Linked DNA regions of Homo sapiens: region 2 is linked to region 1. Evidence: promoter capture Hi-C in 16 types of primary human blood cells and fetal thymus (Javierre and others, 2016). All regions are on one chromosome and are shown on one strand. Each heading gives the region's core, a stretch centred on a gene start or on the middle of the fragment in contact. The rest is flanking DNA. Distances are from core to core; before and after follow the strand shown.

The links. Contacts are between HindIII fragments. The CHiCAGO score rates a contact against its expected background, and 5 or more counts as called.
Region 2: a fragment that was not itself captured here is called in contact with the fragment with the promoter of VPS9D1 in region 1 in 2 of 17 cell types (M1 macrophages and endothelial precursors); the score reaches 6.0 in M1 macrophages.

Annotation. Positions count from the first base shown.
Region 1 is chr16:89,716,181-89,724,126 of GRCh38, reverse strand. VPS9D1 (VPS9 domain containing 1) reads left to right here and starts at 3,229. Exons shown (of 15, transcript NM_004913.3): 1 at 3,229-3,364; 2 at 5,025-5,100; 3 at 7,305-7,397; 4 at 7,503-7,665. The coding sequence starts at 3,266. It overlaps ZNF276 (zinc finger protein 276), which reads right to left and starts at 2,590. Exons shown (of 11, transcript NM_001113525.2): 1 at 2,282-2,590; 2 at 1,293-1,596; 3 at 944-990; 4 at 418-867. The coding sequence starts at 2,486. VPS9D1-AS1 (VPS9D1 antisense RNA 1) reads right to left here. Exons shown (of 4, transcript NR_036480.1): 3 at 7,223-7,656; 4 at 5,962-6,783. RefSeq lists silencers at 1,963-2,422, 2,503-3,622, a cis regulatory region at 4,932 and an enhancer at 4,848-5,017. The HindIII fragment of the contact is 11,777 bases long and covers 1-3,321 here.
Region 2 is chr16:89,839,508-89,847,453 of GRCh38, reverse strand. It overlaps SPIRE2 (spire type actin nucleation factor 2), which reads right to left. Exons shown (of 15, transcript NM_032451.2): 2 at 2,089-2,132. Among named protein-coding and RNA genes, the nearest start is that of SPIRE2, 15 kb to the right of the region's middle. RefSeq lists enhancers at 1-177, 382-526 and a cis regulatory region at 454-455. The HindIII fragment of the contact is 7,206 bases long and covers 1-4,853 here.

The sequences.
Region 1 (7,946 bases), core at 1,980-4,479:
GGCTGGCTGAGTGCCAGGAAATGACCTGCAGCTGGCCCAGGGCAGCAGCCGCAGAGGCAACGGCCATTCTTTTCTCCCACATCCACAGACAAGGCCCTATTCTTCCCTCTTCCTCAGTCCCCTCAGCCCCAAGCACAGGCTTAGAAAAAGACTCGACGGCTGATGAGCGTGTCTCCACAGAAACTGCTGGAACAGAGCCCTGCTCACAGAGGAGCAAGAGGCGGAGACAGGCTGGCCGCCCCTCCCTGCTCTCTGGATGTGGTGAGCAGCCGCAGGCAGAAGCCCCAAGCTCTGCTCCTTCTCACACCACACCCCAGCCACCACCTAGAGCAGTGGAGACATTCACTTTCTGCTGAAAACCCTGCCCCACTGAGGAGCACACATCCTGGTCTAGCACCAGCAAGAGGTGCCTCCTACCTGGGGCCCTGCAAAGGGGCAGGCTTGGCTGAGGTGGGAAGCCCGACCTGGGCCCCACCGCGTCGCTGTCCGAAGGAGGCTGGGCCACATCCGTGCTGGGCAGGGTCTTGGTCTCAGCCCCAACTGGGGTCCCTGTCCCTCTACCCTGGGAGGTCTGAGGGGCATCCCCAGGGTTCCACCCTCGGTGCTGGGGCAGCCGTGGCGCCGTCTCTTTGTCCCATGGCCACTTGACTGCCAGCGCACTGTCCAGCAAGAAGGCCTTGCAGCTGGAGCTGGTATCCATGGTGTAGTCGTGGCCCTGGTCGCAGCCCCACACGACCTGGATGACGCCGCAGTACTCGGAGGACAGTGTCCTCTGAAGGTGGGGCAGGGCCCCGCAGCTGGCCGCATGTCCATGCACCCACCCCACCAAGCCGTGCAGGCACTGGGGGCTGGATGTGATCAGATCCACTGCAGAGAGTCAACAGAGATGTCAGATCCACGGCTGGTCGGCACCCAGCCCACCCTCCACCGGGGGAGGACTCACCCAGACACGCTCCCTCCTCTGCCCCTGTTGGGGGCTGGGCACCGACCCTGCAAAGGATCAGTGTGGCCATGAGCAGGACAAGCAGGCGGAGGTTCACAGCGCTCGTCGTACGGGACCCTCTCGAGATCTCAAACCTCAGCGGTCCCCATAGGCAACTTTCTCTTCCCTCACCCCAGCTCCTCCCAGTTCATCTCTCCACAACAGTCCCAGGGCTGTTGGCACTGAACCCGGGCATGGCCCATTCCCCCCACCCAGAGGCTCCCGCGGAGGCACGCCCTGTCCCTCTCTCAACACCCGTCACACTGCAGTACTGACAGCCTGAACGTGCTCTGAACAGACTAGGGCGTACTTTGCACAAGGCTTCCGGCGACCAGCCGGGGAGGCGTTGACCCTCTGCAGGAAGGACTTGAGAAGGCTGTGGCACTGGTAGAACTGGGCGTGGCAGCTCTTGCAGACAAACGGAGACAAGGTGGGGTCCTGGCGGACAGCCACACCAAGCAGGCGCTGGAAGTCCCGTACGAGCACGCGCTCCTCTGCGGATGGCCTCTCCATGCTCGCTCCAGGCGCCCTCTCGGAGATGCTGCGCAGGCTTCTCGAGGAAAACTTCCCGTGGCAGAGGCGACAGTGACCCATGGCGAGAGCCCGGCCTGCTCCTGCACAGAGCGGCAGGAAGTGTTAGCAGCTGGCAAAGGAGGCTCCTGAGCACAGGGCGTCCCGGACTCCAGGTCCGAGGGCAGCGCCTGCAGCGCCCTTCGCGCGGCTCCCGGACACAGCAAGCGGCTCGGGCGCGCGGCTCTCGGCGGGACAAGCCGCCCTGTGGGGGATGTGGCCGCTGGTCCAAGAAATCTTTCAAATTTCAAAGGCCTCTAAGGCCTCTCCAGCGAAGCAACTTCAAGAGTGAAACCTGGAACTGCACCCTCCTCCCAGCGACCGCGAGACCCGGGGCAGGCGCTGCGCCCTCCAGGAAACGCCGCGGTTTCCTGTCTGCCAATTGCAGGTGCCGCCTCCTTTCCGGCTCCGCGAGGGCACGAAGCAGGGGAGGGCGATTCCCACGCGCGGGCACCCCAGGGCGACCTGCCCGCGGTGACAGCGCTCCTCACGCCGGGTCCCTTCTGGCCGAGCCCGCGGCCGGGGAGGCCGGGCCGGCGACGCCGGCGTCACGGAGCGCGAGGAAAACCGAGCCGGCCGCCCAGCGCCTATCCCGACGCAGCCCCGAGTCCGCTACGCCCTTGGCCGGGTGGAGGAGAGGCCGCGCCGGCTTCCGGGCGTCAGTGCGGCTCCTCCCACGAGCAACCCCTGCCGCGACCCCAACCCGCCACGCCCGGGCCGCGGACCCACCTGCCTCGTCCGCGCCGTCCTCGCCCGCGTCCCCGCAGGACCCCACCGGGCCCCAGGCGCGCCGCGCCGTCGCCCCGTCCACCCTCGGCCCACCGCTAAGGGAAGGGCGGCCCCGAGTCCGGCTGACGCCGCCGCCGCCGTCCGAGGCCCCGCACTGTCGGGACGACCCAGGAGACAGGAAGCGGCCCAGCCGGTCCCGCTTCATGGCAGCGGAGGACGCCAGCAGAATCCCGCGGGTGCTGCCCGGCCCGAGGTTCCTAGAGGACCCGGCGTTAGGCTCCGCTCGGCGCGCTGGAAGCGAGGCGGGGCGGGGGAGGGGCGGAGCGAGAAGCAAAGCGAGGCGGGCGGGGCGGGCCAGGGGCCAGGGGCGGGACCCCGCCGGCCGAGGTTCCACCCGCGGTGCCAGCGCCCCCGCTCGTACCGCTCCCCTCTCGGGCCCGAGGGCGGCCGTGCCCGCCTCTGTCGCCAATGGAGCGCTGGCCTGGGGCGGGGCGGTGGGCGGAGGGGCTCGCCGACACCTCACGACGAGTCCTCCAGGGAGAGGCGACGCGGCCCTCACCGCCTCTTACCGTGGGAGACGGAGGCGCGGGGCGGGCAGGCGCCGGCGGAGGCCACGCGGCGCGCAGGTGGCGGGCGGGCTGCAGAAAGGGGAGGGGGGCCGGGGTCTCACGTAGAGAGGGGCCTGGCTGCCGCGGTTAGACGCCCATGGCAACTCCGTGAGGGGCCCTTCTCGCCAGCCCCGTCTCAAGACGGCGAAGAGGCCCGGCTCCGTCGCGACAACCCACCCGGACTCTGCCGCCCCCGCCACTAACACCCGTGGGGCCCGCAGTACGCGCGGAGGGGGCCCGTCGCCGGAAGTGCGGCCGCGTCCCTTCCTGCGGTCCGCTGCTCGGGCGGCTCCAGCACCAGCGCCGGCTGCGTTCCGGGCCTCCGGTCGCCCGTCCAGCCCCTCGGCTACCGCCGCCGCCTCCCCCGCTCGGCGCCATGGCCGCTGCGGCCGGGGACGGCACGGTGAAGCCGCTGCAGAGCGCCATGAAGCTTGCCAACGGGGCCATCGAGCTGGACACCGGCAACCGGCCCCGGGTGAGGCGGGGCGGGGGCGGGGCTTGGCCGCTGAGGGTGGCCCCTGGAGGGACCCCCGCCCGGGGAGGGCGAGGACGGGGCCGGCTCGGGCTGGAGACTTGGGAGCGGGCGCCAGCCGGGATCCCGGGCCGCGGTTCCCGGGCGAGGACGGGGGCGGGGCGCAGCCGGGCGTGCAGTGACCTTGGACAGCTCAGATCCTGCGGACCTTGGCTTTCCACTCCGCTCGCTGAGCCGGTGCATCACAGCCTGGGCTCCACCTGTAGAGGAGATGTAGCAGGAGGGTCCGCCAGGCCACCTTCCAAAATCCGAGTGACGGGCAGGTCCGTGCGTTCGTGCATTTTTCTGGGCAGAGATGGTAGATTTAATCCGGTTGCCACAGGGGACGGCATGCAGAGAAGGCCACATACCTGCTCATTTGTGATGCTGTTTGCAGTCGTCTTAGGAAGGAAAAGCAGGCCGGAGGGGTGTGGCCCGTTCCTGAGATGGGGCCGAATCTAAGGTTGGCGACCAGGTAGAGAAGCTGGCCCAGCCACACCCGGCTGCCCAAGGAGGGAAGGAGCCTGCCTGTGCCTAGGAGAAGCCTCGTTCCTGAATCTGCTGCTTTCCCCAAGTTGGTTTTTAGGGCAGCAGGTGCCCCCGCAAGTCAGAAATCCTGCCTGGATTATATTTCGTCTTTCTCTCTGAGGCATAGACTTAAAGATAGGAAACTTAACAGCTAGGGATAAAACAAAAAAACATAGCATATTGCTGGGCGCTGTGGTTCACGCCTGTAATCCTGACACTTTGGGAGGCCCAGGCGGTGGATCACCTGAGGTGAGGAGTTTGAGACCAGCCTGGCCAACGTGGTGAAACCCCGTCTCTACTAAAAATACAAAAATTAGCTGGGTGTGGCGGTGCACACCTGTAATCCTAGCTCCTTGGGAGGCTGAGGGATGAGAATCACTTGAACCCAGGAGGCGGAGGTTGCAGTGACTCGAGATCCTGCCACTGCACTCCAGCCTGGGCGACAGAGTGAGACTCTGTCTCAACAAAACAAAACAAACCACCATTCTGTGGTTCCAATGACCTGTGCCTTGTCAGAGGGGTCACACAGCCTTGAAAGGTAACAGTTCTAGGCTCCTGTGTGCACTGGAAATACGTAACTCGCAGGTTCTGGGAAAGGGATTTCTCGGAACTTAAACCGGGAAGTGATTTGAAAACTTCCAGTATCACTCCCTTTATCCTCTCAGAAAAGTATTTTTTTAAGCCACTGAATGAATCACCCTTGAGTTGCACAAGAAGGAAACATTGCATAGAATGAAAAATGACAGCAAACTGCTGAGGTCACTTCCCCAGGCCCACTGAATGAGAATATCAGTTCCTGTGCTGGAGAGAAAGGCAGTCAGAGGAGAAAATGAGGTCCAGCTCGTCCCTGGCTCTCTCTCTCTCTCAGGTCCTGATGTCTTTTCCAAGTCTGGAGAGCAGCGATGCTGCCTGTGCCCTGCGCAGAAAACCGTGTTCCGGCTGCAGCTAACCACCGCAGGCTCAATGTCTCTGGGTGTATCTCAGAGATAAGCAGGTGGTGGTGTTCCTTGCTTATCCCACAAGGGCACCTGGCCGGAATAATGGAGTCACTTCCCTCCACTGGCCTGACCCCACTCTTTCTCTTTCCTGGACACAGGAGGCATACACGGAATACCTGAGGAGCATCCACTATATCTCCCAGGTGTTACTAGAAGAAGTGGAAACCACTAAAGGTACGGCTCAGCCAGCCGGGCGCGGTGGCTCACGCCTGTAATCCCAGCACTGTGGGAGGCAGAGGCGGGCTATCACCTGAGGTCAGGAGATCGAAACCATCCTGGCTAACATGGTGAAACCCCGTCTCTACTAAAAATCTAAAAAATCAGCTGGGCCTGGTGGCGGGTGTCTGTAGTCCCAGCTACTCGGGAGGCTGAGGCAGGAGAATTGCTTGAACCCGGGAGCAGAGGTTGCAGTGAGCCGAGATCACCCCATTGTACTCCAGCCTGGAACAAGAGCGAAACTCCGTCTCAAAAAAAAAAAAAAGAAAAGAAAAAGAAAAAGGCATGGCTGAGCCCTGCTGCTTCCTCCATGCTGGACAAATTGTGGGCATCCTAGCCCTTGATGGGTGCCAGGCTTCGGCGGGGGTCTCTTGTATCCTTCTAGCCTGACCATTTGTAGTAGGTGGACCAGCCCACACTCAGTGTGATATAGTGGCAGGAAGGGACCAGCGTTGTGGATAAGAAGATGGAGACTGGGGTGTGGCAAGACACTGGCTCCAGTGAGCGGCACAGACGTGGGGCAGCATTCCAGCTGTGGGGTGTGCAAAGGCCCTGAAATAGGAGTGGGCGGGGTGGGGCTGTGTGCATGCCTTGGGTGGAACTGGGGCCGTTCTGGTGTGCAGGGAAACTTGAAGAGACTTTGAGCTTTGAGGGAGAGGACAGCCTGGGAGTGGAGCCTCAGGTGAGGACTGAGGATGGCAGTGGCCAGACCACCCAGGATGGGAGCAGTAAACGGCCTCGGGGTGCGTCCTGAAGGTGGAACAGAGCAGACTTGCAGGAGGCAGATGGGGCAGGAGCAAACTGGCAAGGAGAGGAATAGCAAGTTCCGCAATGAACACATTAAGTTTGAGAGGCCAGCAGCCGCTGCACAAAGGATCACAGAGGTCAGGGGGAGCCACTGGACATAGAGCACAGAGGTCAGGGGGAGCCACTGGACGTGGGATCACAGAGGTCAGGGGGACCCACTGGACGTGGGAGCACAGAGGTCGGGGGAGCCACTGGACGTGGGAGCACAGAGGTCGGGGGAGCCACTGGACGTGGGAGCACAGAGGTCGGGGGAGCCACTGGACGTGGGATCACAGAGGTCGGGGGAGCCCCTGGACGTGGGATCACAGAGGTCGGGGCAGCCACTGGACGTAGGATCACACAGGTCAGGGGGAGCTAACAGTTGCCCCAGCTCCCTAGGGAGCCGGTGAGCTCGGCTGAGCTCTGGCGCTCCAAGATTGAGGAGTTGGGTGGAGGAGTGGCAGAGGATCCCCTGGGGAGAGCAAAGTCCCAGAAGACAGAGGAACTCCAGTGGCCCACCGTGTCTGGCAAGGTGGGGACGGGTAAGGGCAGTTTCCGGGGGGAGTCGGGGGCTAAATCGGGGCGGGATGAGAAAATGGGAGTCTATGAGAAGTTTTCTGTGAAGGGCAGCAGGGAGGTGGGTCAGGCGCTGGGGCGGTGGGTCCAGGGGCGAGTCACAGAGAGGCAGCTCCCACGGCGCGCAGAAGGGCTGTGTGAGCAGGTCCATGGTCGCGCAGAGGTGCTCCATGCCAAGCTACGGGAAGGCAGGACTTTGGGGACACAGCCGGTGGGAGATGGGTGAGGCGATCCCCTCAGCACGTCCTTGTCTCTGTAAAACGGCCACTTCCCAGAGGCCTGCAGTTGCAAGTGAAGCTGAGTGAGCACTAAAGGCCTGTTTAGGGTCGAGGCTGTGACGGGCCTCGATGAGGGGCCCACAGCCTTAGCAGACTCAGGAGGCAAAACCAGGGCAGATGATTAGAAATGCGTGGGTGGGGGGACTTGCCTGGGGTCCATGGTGGGGGCAGGGGCCTTGCCTGGGGTCCATGAGGAATAGTCGGCTTGCCCGGGGTCAGTGGGGGGTGGAAGGGGCAGTGGGCTTACCCGGGGTGAGGGGATGGGGGGGCAGTGGGCTTGCCTAGGGTCAGTCAGTTGGGGGACGGGAGGGGCAGTGGGCTTACCCGGGGTGAGGGGATGGGGGGGCAGTGGGCTTGCCCAGGGTCAGTGAGGGGATGGGGGGGCAGTGGGCTTGCCCGGGGTCAGTGGGGGTGCTGAGGGGGGCAGTGGGCTTGCCTGCCTTTTCCGTTGCCTCATTTTATCTCAGCAGTAAGTAACAGTGGTAGAGCCGACTGTGACCAGCCTTCTTGTCCCTCCCCCAGAAGCTGGGGAAACTGTGCCCCCCGACACCTCCAAGATGCTGAAGCTAGCACAGCAGTGTCTGGAGAGGGCCCAGTCGACGGCCGCCAAGCTTGGTGGGTCTCCTGCAGTAGGCGGCTCTCCTGGGGCATCCCCCAAGCCCGCATCTCCTCTGTGGGATGTGGCCCACCGCTTGACCCCTGGTTACCCATGGCTTGCAGGGAAAACACGCCTGAAGCCAACCATGCCTGCAGCTGCTCCCATTCCCCAGCCTGCCGGCCGACACCGCCGTGTATACTCCGATGAAGGAGGAAAGCTCTCTCCTTTTCTGCCACCCGAGATCTTCCAGAAGCTTCAGGGGGCAGAGTCACAAAGCTGTAAGAAGTAAGATGGACAAGATGGGAGGTGGGATGAGCCTGGGATTGGGTTTTTGAGGCTGAGAAAGATGAGCTGATGACAGCGATTTTTTTTTTGTTTTTTGAGACAGAGTCTCACTCTGTCACCCAGGCTGGAGTGCAGCGGCTCAATCTTGGCTCACGGCAACCTCCACCTCCCGGGTTCACACCATTCTTCTGCCTCAGCCTCCCAAGTAGCTGAGACTACAGGCGCCCACCACCACACCCAGCTAATTTTTTGTATTTTTAGTAGAGACGGGGTTTTGCCAT
Region 2 (7,946 bases), core at 1-2,500, 130 kb before region 1:
AGGCAGCAGCTGCTCTGTTTGGAGACTCGGGACAGCAGGGCCAGCCGGCCTCCCAGCCCTGGAGTCCTGGACTTCAGAAAGGTAAACTGTCCCGTGTACAACGCAACAGTGAGACACACGACAACCGGACACAGCCACACAGACAGGCCCCCACTCACGTCCCAGGACACTACGTATAGCACAATGGCATCTCCACACACAGAGCTGCCAGGCAACCTGAGCGCATGCAGTCTAAACATCCCCGCCCCGAGGTTCTCCACGGTGGCAGGTGCCTTATCACTGAATTGTTAAGTGCTGTTTGTGGTGACATAGACTTCGGTTTTATTATTGTTTTTAAATTATCAACAACAGAACACACAGCCTCTTTTGGTCTGTGTCACACCCACCCTGGGTATACCACCATGTTTAATAATATATCAATAGGTCTTGCGGTAAATCTATGTTGTTTTCTTCTTGTTTTTTTTTTTTTAAACAATTAATCTCACTTGGGCATGAAAAACTTTTACAAAAGACAGAAGACACTCGGGAGACTGAGGCAGGAGAATTGCTTGAACCCGGGAGGCGGCGGTTGCAGTGAGCCAAGATCACGCCACTGGACTCCCCCTGGGCAACAAGAGGGTAGATCTAAAAAAAAAAAAAAAAAGGCTGGGCGTGATGGCTCACACCTGTAATCCCAGCAGTTTGGGAGGCTGAGGTGGGTGAATCATGAGGTCAGGAGTTTGAGACCATCCTGGCCAACATGGTGAAACCCCACTTCTACTAAAAATACAAAAATTAGCCGGGCATGGTGGCGGGCGCCTGTAGTCCCAGCTACTTGAGAGGCTGGCCAGGAGAATGGCGTGAACCCGGGAGGCGGAGGTTGCAGTGAGCCAAGATCACGCCACTGCACTCCAGCCTGGTGACAGAGAGAGACTCTGTCTCAAAAACAAAAAAAAACACAAAAATTAGCCAGGCGTGGTGGCATGCGCCTGTAATCTCAGCTACTCGGGAGGCTGAGGCAGGAGAATTGCTTGAACCCAGGAGACGGAGGTTGCGCTGCAACTAGCCGAGGTTGCAGTGAGCTGAGATCGCACCACTGCAGTCCAACCTGGGTGACAGAGGGAGATTCTATCTCAAAAAAAAAAAGAGGCCAGGCACAGTGGCTCAGAACTGTAATCCCAGCACTTTGGGAGGCCAAGTGGGAGGATGGCTTGAGCCCAGGAGTTTGAGACTAGTCCGGGCAACATAGTGAGACATCTCTATTAAAAAATAAAATAAGGCCGGGCGCGGTGGCTCACTCCTGTAATCCCAGCACTTTGGGAGGCCGAGGCAGGTGAATCACAAGGTCAGGACATCAAGACCATCCTGGCTAACACGGTGAAACCCCGTCTCTACTAAAAATAGAAAAAAATTAGCCGGGCGTGGTGGCGGGCACCAGTAGTCCCAGCTACTTGGGAGGCTGAGGCAGGAGAAAGGTGTGAACCCGGGAGGCGGAGCTTGCAGTAAGCCGAGATCACACCACTGCACTCCAGCCTGGGCGACAGAGCGCGACTCCATCTCAAAACAATAAAATAAAATAAAATGAACAAAAGCAAAAAAAACAAAGAAAGAAAACTAAAAAGGCAGTAGAAAGTGGAAACATGACGTTCCAGACATGACTTCAGGGCAGGTGAATGGGAGAGGAAGGCCCTGCCCTGCGGTGAGGTTCCAGTTTTGGTCGGGTGGGGTTTCGGGGCACTGGTCACCAGGCTGATTTTTCCTGTTTGCACCTGAAGTCGTCTCCCTGACCCCGGCTCTGTGTCTGGGAGGCCGGCCCTGCAGACGTCAGCTGTGCCCCTCATCTGTGCAGCTGTGGAAGGAAGTAACACCACTGCCTCCTCCAGGCCGGAAGCACCACGGGGACCCTCCCCACCCCGGCGGTCTCCTCCACGTCTGCTCTCTGTGAACAGCGTTTCATCCAGTCCCTGCAACTAAGCCTGTTGGGTACTTCATCTGCACCCTGCCTCCCTGAAACAACTGTGTAACTATATATGTTTTATGATTTACATTTTAAGATGCAGGTACGTTTTAACACACATCAAGTAATACTTGGAATTTTTTAAAAAGTACCTGGGCTTCCGAGCTGGCTAGTGGCACGACCATGGTTGCAGGTTCTGTAAGAGAAGAGGGAGTTAAGTTATTTGTCAGCATCCCCGGGACCCCAATAAACACTGCTGTCCCCCCACCTCCCCCTCGGGGACACACACCACAGCCCCACTCTCCGCCGGAACACCAGAAAGCTCACAGCAGGCCCAGCCACTTGGTCATTTGGACGAACACCCATGAGGCCCGGCTCGAGCTGGCTCTAAGCAGGACACCCAGGTACAGGGGCCGGGAGAGCAAGGCAACCCCTACTTGCAGAAGGATGATGGTCAGCTTGTGGACAGACCCCCAGTGCCCCACGCAGCAGCCCCTCCATGGTGACCACTCAAAGGCGAGTCAGGGCTGGAGAGCAGCCAACAGGTCCCACAGTCTGTCCCGGGCACTGCAGGAGGCTGCCCCTAGGGAAACATGGCTGGGAGTAAGAGTGAAGGAGGGGCAGGTGGAGTAGGAGGCCAGATGTGGTGGCTCACACCTATAATCCCAGCACTTTGAGATGCCGAGGTGGGAGAGCTGCTAGCAGCCAGGAGTTCAAAACCAGCCTGGACAACATAGTAAGCCCCTGTGGCTACAAAAAATTTTAAAATTACTTTGGGAGGGCCAGGCGCGGTGGCTCACGCCTGTAATCCCGGCACTTTGGGAGGCTGAGGCAGGCGGATCACAACGTCAGGAGATCGGGGCCATCCTGGCTAACACGGTGAAACCCCGTCTGTACTAAAAATACAAAAAATTAGCCAGGCGTGGTGGCGGGCACCTGTAGTCCCAGCTACTCGGGAGGGTGATGCAGGAGAATGGCGTGAACCCAGGAGGCAGAGCTTGCAGTGAGCCGAGATTGCACCACTGCACTCCAGCCTGGGCAACAGAGTGAGACTCTGTCTCAAAAAAAAAAAAAATTACTTTGGGAGGCTGAGGTGGGTGGACCACTTGAGGCTAGCAGTTCAAGACCAGCCTGACCAACATGATGAAACCCTATCTCTACTAAAAGTACAAAATACAAAAATGAGCCAGGCATAGTGGAGAGCACCTGTAATCCCAGCTACTCAGGAGACTGAGGCGTGAGAATCGCTTGAACCCAGGAGATGGAGGCTGCAGGTGGAGGCTGACCCAAGATCATGCCACTGCACTTCAGCTTGGGCAACAGAGCGTGACTGCATCTCAAAAAATATATAAAAATAAAAATAAAAAAATTAGCCAGGCGTGGTGGCAGGTGCCTGTAGTCCTGCTACTCGGGAGGACCTCTTGAGCCCAGGAGGTTGAGGCTGCAGTGAGCCAAGATTGCACCAGTGCACACCAGCCTGGGCGACAGAGTGAGACCCTGTCTCAAAAAAAAAAAAAGGCCAGGCACGGCAGCTCATGCCTGTAATCTCAGCACTTTGAGGTGCCACGGCGGGTGGATCACTTAAGATTAGGAGTTTGAGACCAGCCTGGGCCACATATCGAAACCTCATCTCTCCAAAAAATACATAAAAATAGCTGGGCATGGTAGTGCATATATGTAGTCCTAGCTACTCGGGAGACTGAGGTGGGAGGATCACTTGAGCCTGAGGGGTGGAGGTTGCAGTGAACCGAGATCACGCCACTGCATTCCAGCCTGGGCAACAAAGCGAGACTCTGTCTCAAAAAAAAAAAAAAAAAAACAAAAAACAAAAACAAACAAAAAAAAAAAAACGTGGCAGCAAGGCAGCAGCTCCATCCATCGAGGCACATCTTCAGGAAAGAACCTGTGGTCTGAGATGAGACACACCACCTGCCTGGGACTGAGGTTGTGCACACTGAAATCACAGCAGTCAGATGAGAAACCCCGGGTCAGAGGGAGAGACAGACTTTGCAGAGCAGGTAAGTCGGCATCTGACTGAGACCACCGATTTGGAGATGTCCCCCCAAGACTGTTTATGCCTCTTAGAGAACCACAGTCCGAGTGGAAATGCAGGTGGAAGCTGGAGTCACGTATTTCATTGATGAAACCTGGCCCTGAGGGAGGCCCGGGAGCGAACCTGCCTTTTGCCGGTGCTCACGCTGGAGCTGGTTGCTCCACTTCCCGTTTCACAGATGAGGAAACAGAGACCGGAGGATGAATCTGTTTGCTCCAAGGTATCAGGGCTGATAAGTGCCAGGAGTGGGGCCAGGCCGTGGGGCCCAGGGTCTGTGCTCCCCAACCCTCCTCCCCCGGGGTTCCCAAGATGCTGCGCTGGGTGGGATGCAAAACATCCACCCGATTCTACAGCCTTCCTTGAACTGGGCATGCAGGTGGGACTGTGCTAGAACAAGAGCTCCAGCTGCCTGGAATTCTTTCTGGAATGAGGTAAGATGTATATATGCGTCTATATCTAAGCCATGAAATCATCTGCTCAGTGGACCTGCTAACTCCACAAATATTTTCAAAATGCCATCAAGAACCAGGAAGATTGCCAAAGATAAAGGGAGCCTGCTCCATTAACATAATGGAAAGCAATCCACCCCCGCATCAGTGGAGTTCATAGAACAATGTGTGGCCCACGGTGGGGGTGTGGGTCCCCAGGGCCTGGGCAGTCCTGGCCCGCGCTGGGCGTTCAGCACGTTTGCAGCTGTGATTGGGCCGAGGCCATGGGAAGGTGGAAGACATCAGACCCAAACAAAGGTGCTCCCTGGAACAGACCAGGGCCCTGTGGGGAAGGGCTGACTGGTGGCCGGCTGGCCCTTCAGTGCCTTCACAGACTAAGCCCACATCAGGCGAGGTCCTCAGTGCATGGGAAGCTTCTGGTTGGAATAATTTTAATGTTTGTGCCTCTGGCTCAAATACTCCATAGGTTAACAAAAAAAGTTGTATCAAAATTAAATGTTCACGGCCGGGCACGGTGGCTCACGCCTGTAATCCCAGCACTTCGGGAGGCCGAAGTGGGTGGATCACCTGAGGTCAGGAGTTCAAGACCAGTCTGGCCAACATGGCAAAACCCCGTTTCTACTAAAAATACAAAAATTAGCTGGGCATGGTGGCACATGCCTGTAATCCCAGCTACTTGGGAGGCTGAGAGAGGAGAATCGCTTGAACCCAGGAGGTGGAGGTTGCAGTGAGTCAAGATGGTGCCACTGCACTCCAGCCTGGGCAACAGAGTGAGACTCCGTCACAAAAAAAAAAAAAAAAAAAAAATTACGTGTTCATGAATCTAATTGTATTTAAGCTGCAAAGACTTGGGGTGTCTCTGGGTTCTGAGATGAGAGATTATCTGGGGGAGACTTGGGGGCCGACAGAGGCCTTTGCAGTCAGAGCCCGAGCCCAGGATGTTATAAAACTCAGATGTTATAAAACTAGATGTTAAAAAATTATTTACTGTGGGGTGCGGTGGCTCACGCCTGTAATCCCAGCACTTTGGGAGGCTGAGGTAGGCGGATCACCTGAGGTCAGGAGTTGGAGACCAGCCTGACCAACAGGGAGAAACCCCACCTCTCCTAAAAATACAAAATTAGCCGGGCATGGTGGCGCATGCCTGTAATCCCAGCTACTCGGGAGGAACACGCCTGTAATCCCAGCTACTTGGGAGGCTGAGGCAAGAGAACGGCTTGAACCTGGGAGGTGGAGGTTGCGGTGAGCCGAGATCGTGCCACTGCACTCCAGCCTGGGTAACAAAAGCAAAACTCCATCTCAAAAAAAAAAAAATTATTTACCGTGGCCTCTATCTGCGCAGCCATCCCATAAAGGTTGGTGCCATAATTTCCTCGTTACAGATGAGGAAATCGAGGCTCAGGCAGGTTGAGAAACTTACCCAAGACCATACCCCTAATAAATGGGGCAGCTGGGCCACCGAGCATGGCCAGACCACAGCAAGCAACCCAGCCGAACACCCAGGTATAAGTGCATACAGAGCTACCACAACCACGTCACCAACGTGGCCACAGAGCTACCACAACCACGTCACCAACGTGGCCACATGGGGTTATGCAAACCACCTTTTGCTTATCTAAAAAATTCTCTCCAGGGTAGAGCAGACGGAGGCAGTAAGGACCCCAGATTCTCATCAAGTCTATTAGTGCCATGCTAAGGTGGGAGGCAGAACCAGGACCCCTCGTTTCCATCCACCACTAAGAGTTAAGAGCCTATTTCTCCCTGCAGGGAAGCACAGCCTCAATGAGAGAAGAAAAGCCACCTGAGTTTCTTTTTCCTTTTTTTTTTTTTTTGAAACAAGGTGTTGCTCTGTCACCCAGGCTGGAGTGCAGTGGTGTAATCATGGCTCACTGCAGCCATGACTTCCTGGGCTCAAGCGATCCTCCCGCCTCAGCCTCCCAAAGTGCTGGGAGTACAGGTGTGAGCTACTGCACCTGACTCAGATTTCTTTTGTGTAAAATAACAAATGACTAGAACAAAGATGCTAGGGAGTCTTCTTTGAAACAATCCTGTGTGTGCTTGTAAAAGATGACAGGTTTCAGCTGGGCGCGGTGGCTCACGCCTGTAATCCCAGCACTTTGGGAGGCCGAGGCAGGCGGATCATGAGGTCAGGAGATCGAGACCATCCTGGCTAACACGGTGAAACCCCGTCTCTACTAAAAAATACAAAAAAATAAGCTGGGCGTGGTGGCGGGCACCTGTAGTCCCAGCTACTCGGGAGGCTGAGGCAGGAGAATGGCGTGAACCTGGGAGGCGGAGTTTGCAGTGAGCCGAGATTGCGCCATTGCACTCCAGCCTGGGCGACAGAGTGACTCCATCTCAAAAAAAAAAAAAAAAAAATTTGAAAACTTTTTATTTTTATGCAAACCATCTCCAACTTTTGAGAGAAACATTACGGTAACATTAAAATATAACTTTGAAAGGATTTGGGCCAGACATGGTGGCTCATGCCTGTAATCCAGCACTTTGGGAGGCCGAGGCGGGCGGATCCCAAGGTCAGGAGATCGAAACCATCCTGGCTAACACGGTGAAACCCCGTCTCTACTAAAAATCTAAAAAATTAGCCAGGCCTGGTGGCGGGCGCCTGTAGTCCCAGTTATTCGGGAGGCTGAGACAGGAGAATGATGTGAACCCGGGAGGTGGAGCTTGCAGTGAGCCGAGATCGCGCCACTGCACTCCAGCCTGGACGACAGAGCGAGACTCCGTCTCAAAAAAAAAAAAAAAAAAAAAAGATGACAGGTTTCATTTGGAAGAGGGATGTCTGTGGGACATTTGCTGCCTGCAGCTCCTCCAGCAGCTTCAAGAGGAAGGTCGTCCCACACTGCAGGGAGGTGGGTGGTGGACAGAGGTTACCAGGCAGCCTCAGCCTCCATCTGCTTGGGAGCGTCAGCCTAGCCCGACAAGGGGTTTGGTGGGAGGTCAGATCCTGACCAACCTGTGGCTACTGGCGCTGGGTGTCTTGCCCCTGTGACCTCACTTCCTCACCTGCAGGACAGAGATGACTCCTGCTCAATCTCACGCATGGCGTTACCTCGAATAACAAGTCAGGTGGCAGACACACACAGGCATGATCATCAGTGACAATGGCAGTGAGGCCACCAGGGCCCCCTGGCCAGGCTTGGCCCAAGGCTGCCCTGCCTTTGACTCTCTTAGCCTTGGGGTCAGGACAGGGATGGCTCTGGGGGAGCCCATGCTCTCTGCATGGGAAGGGGTACGACTCCCCTTTTCACCCCACCCCCAGAGGAAGACCTCACACATCTTGATGAGGCCATAGCATTTGGCTACATTGGGCCCAACCCCCGCACGTGGCCGCTGCTTAAACGCTGACTGTGAGTGAAGCCATCTCTGATCTCTCCCGCCTCCAGGGGTTTCCTGCTTCCCAGGTCTCAGGCTGAGTGCTCTCAGAAGCACCAGGGCCAGGGCAGACAGGGGGACGCAGCACACCCATTCCTGGCAGACCCACGAACTA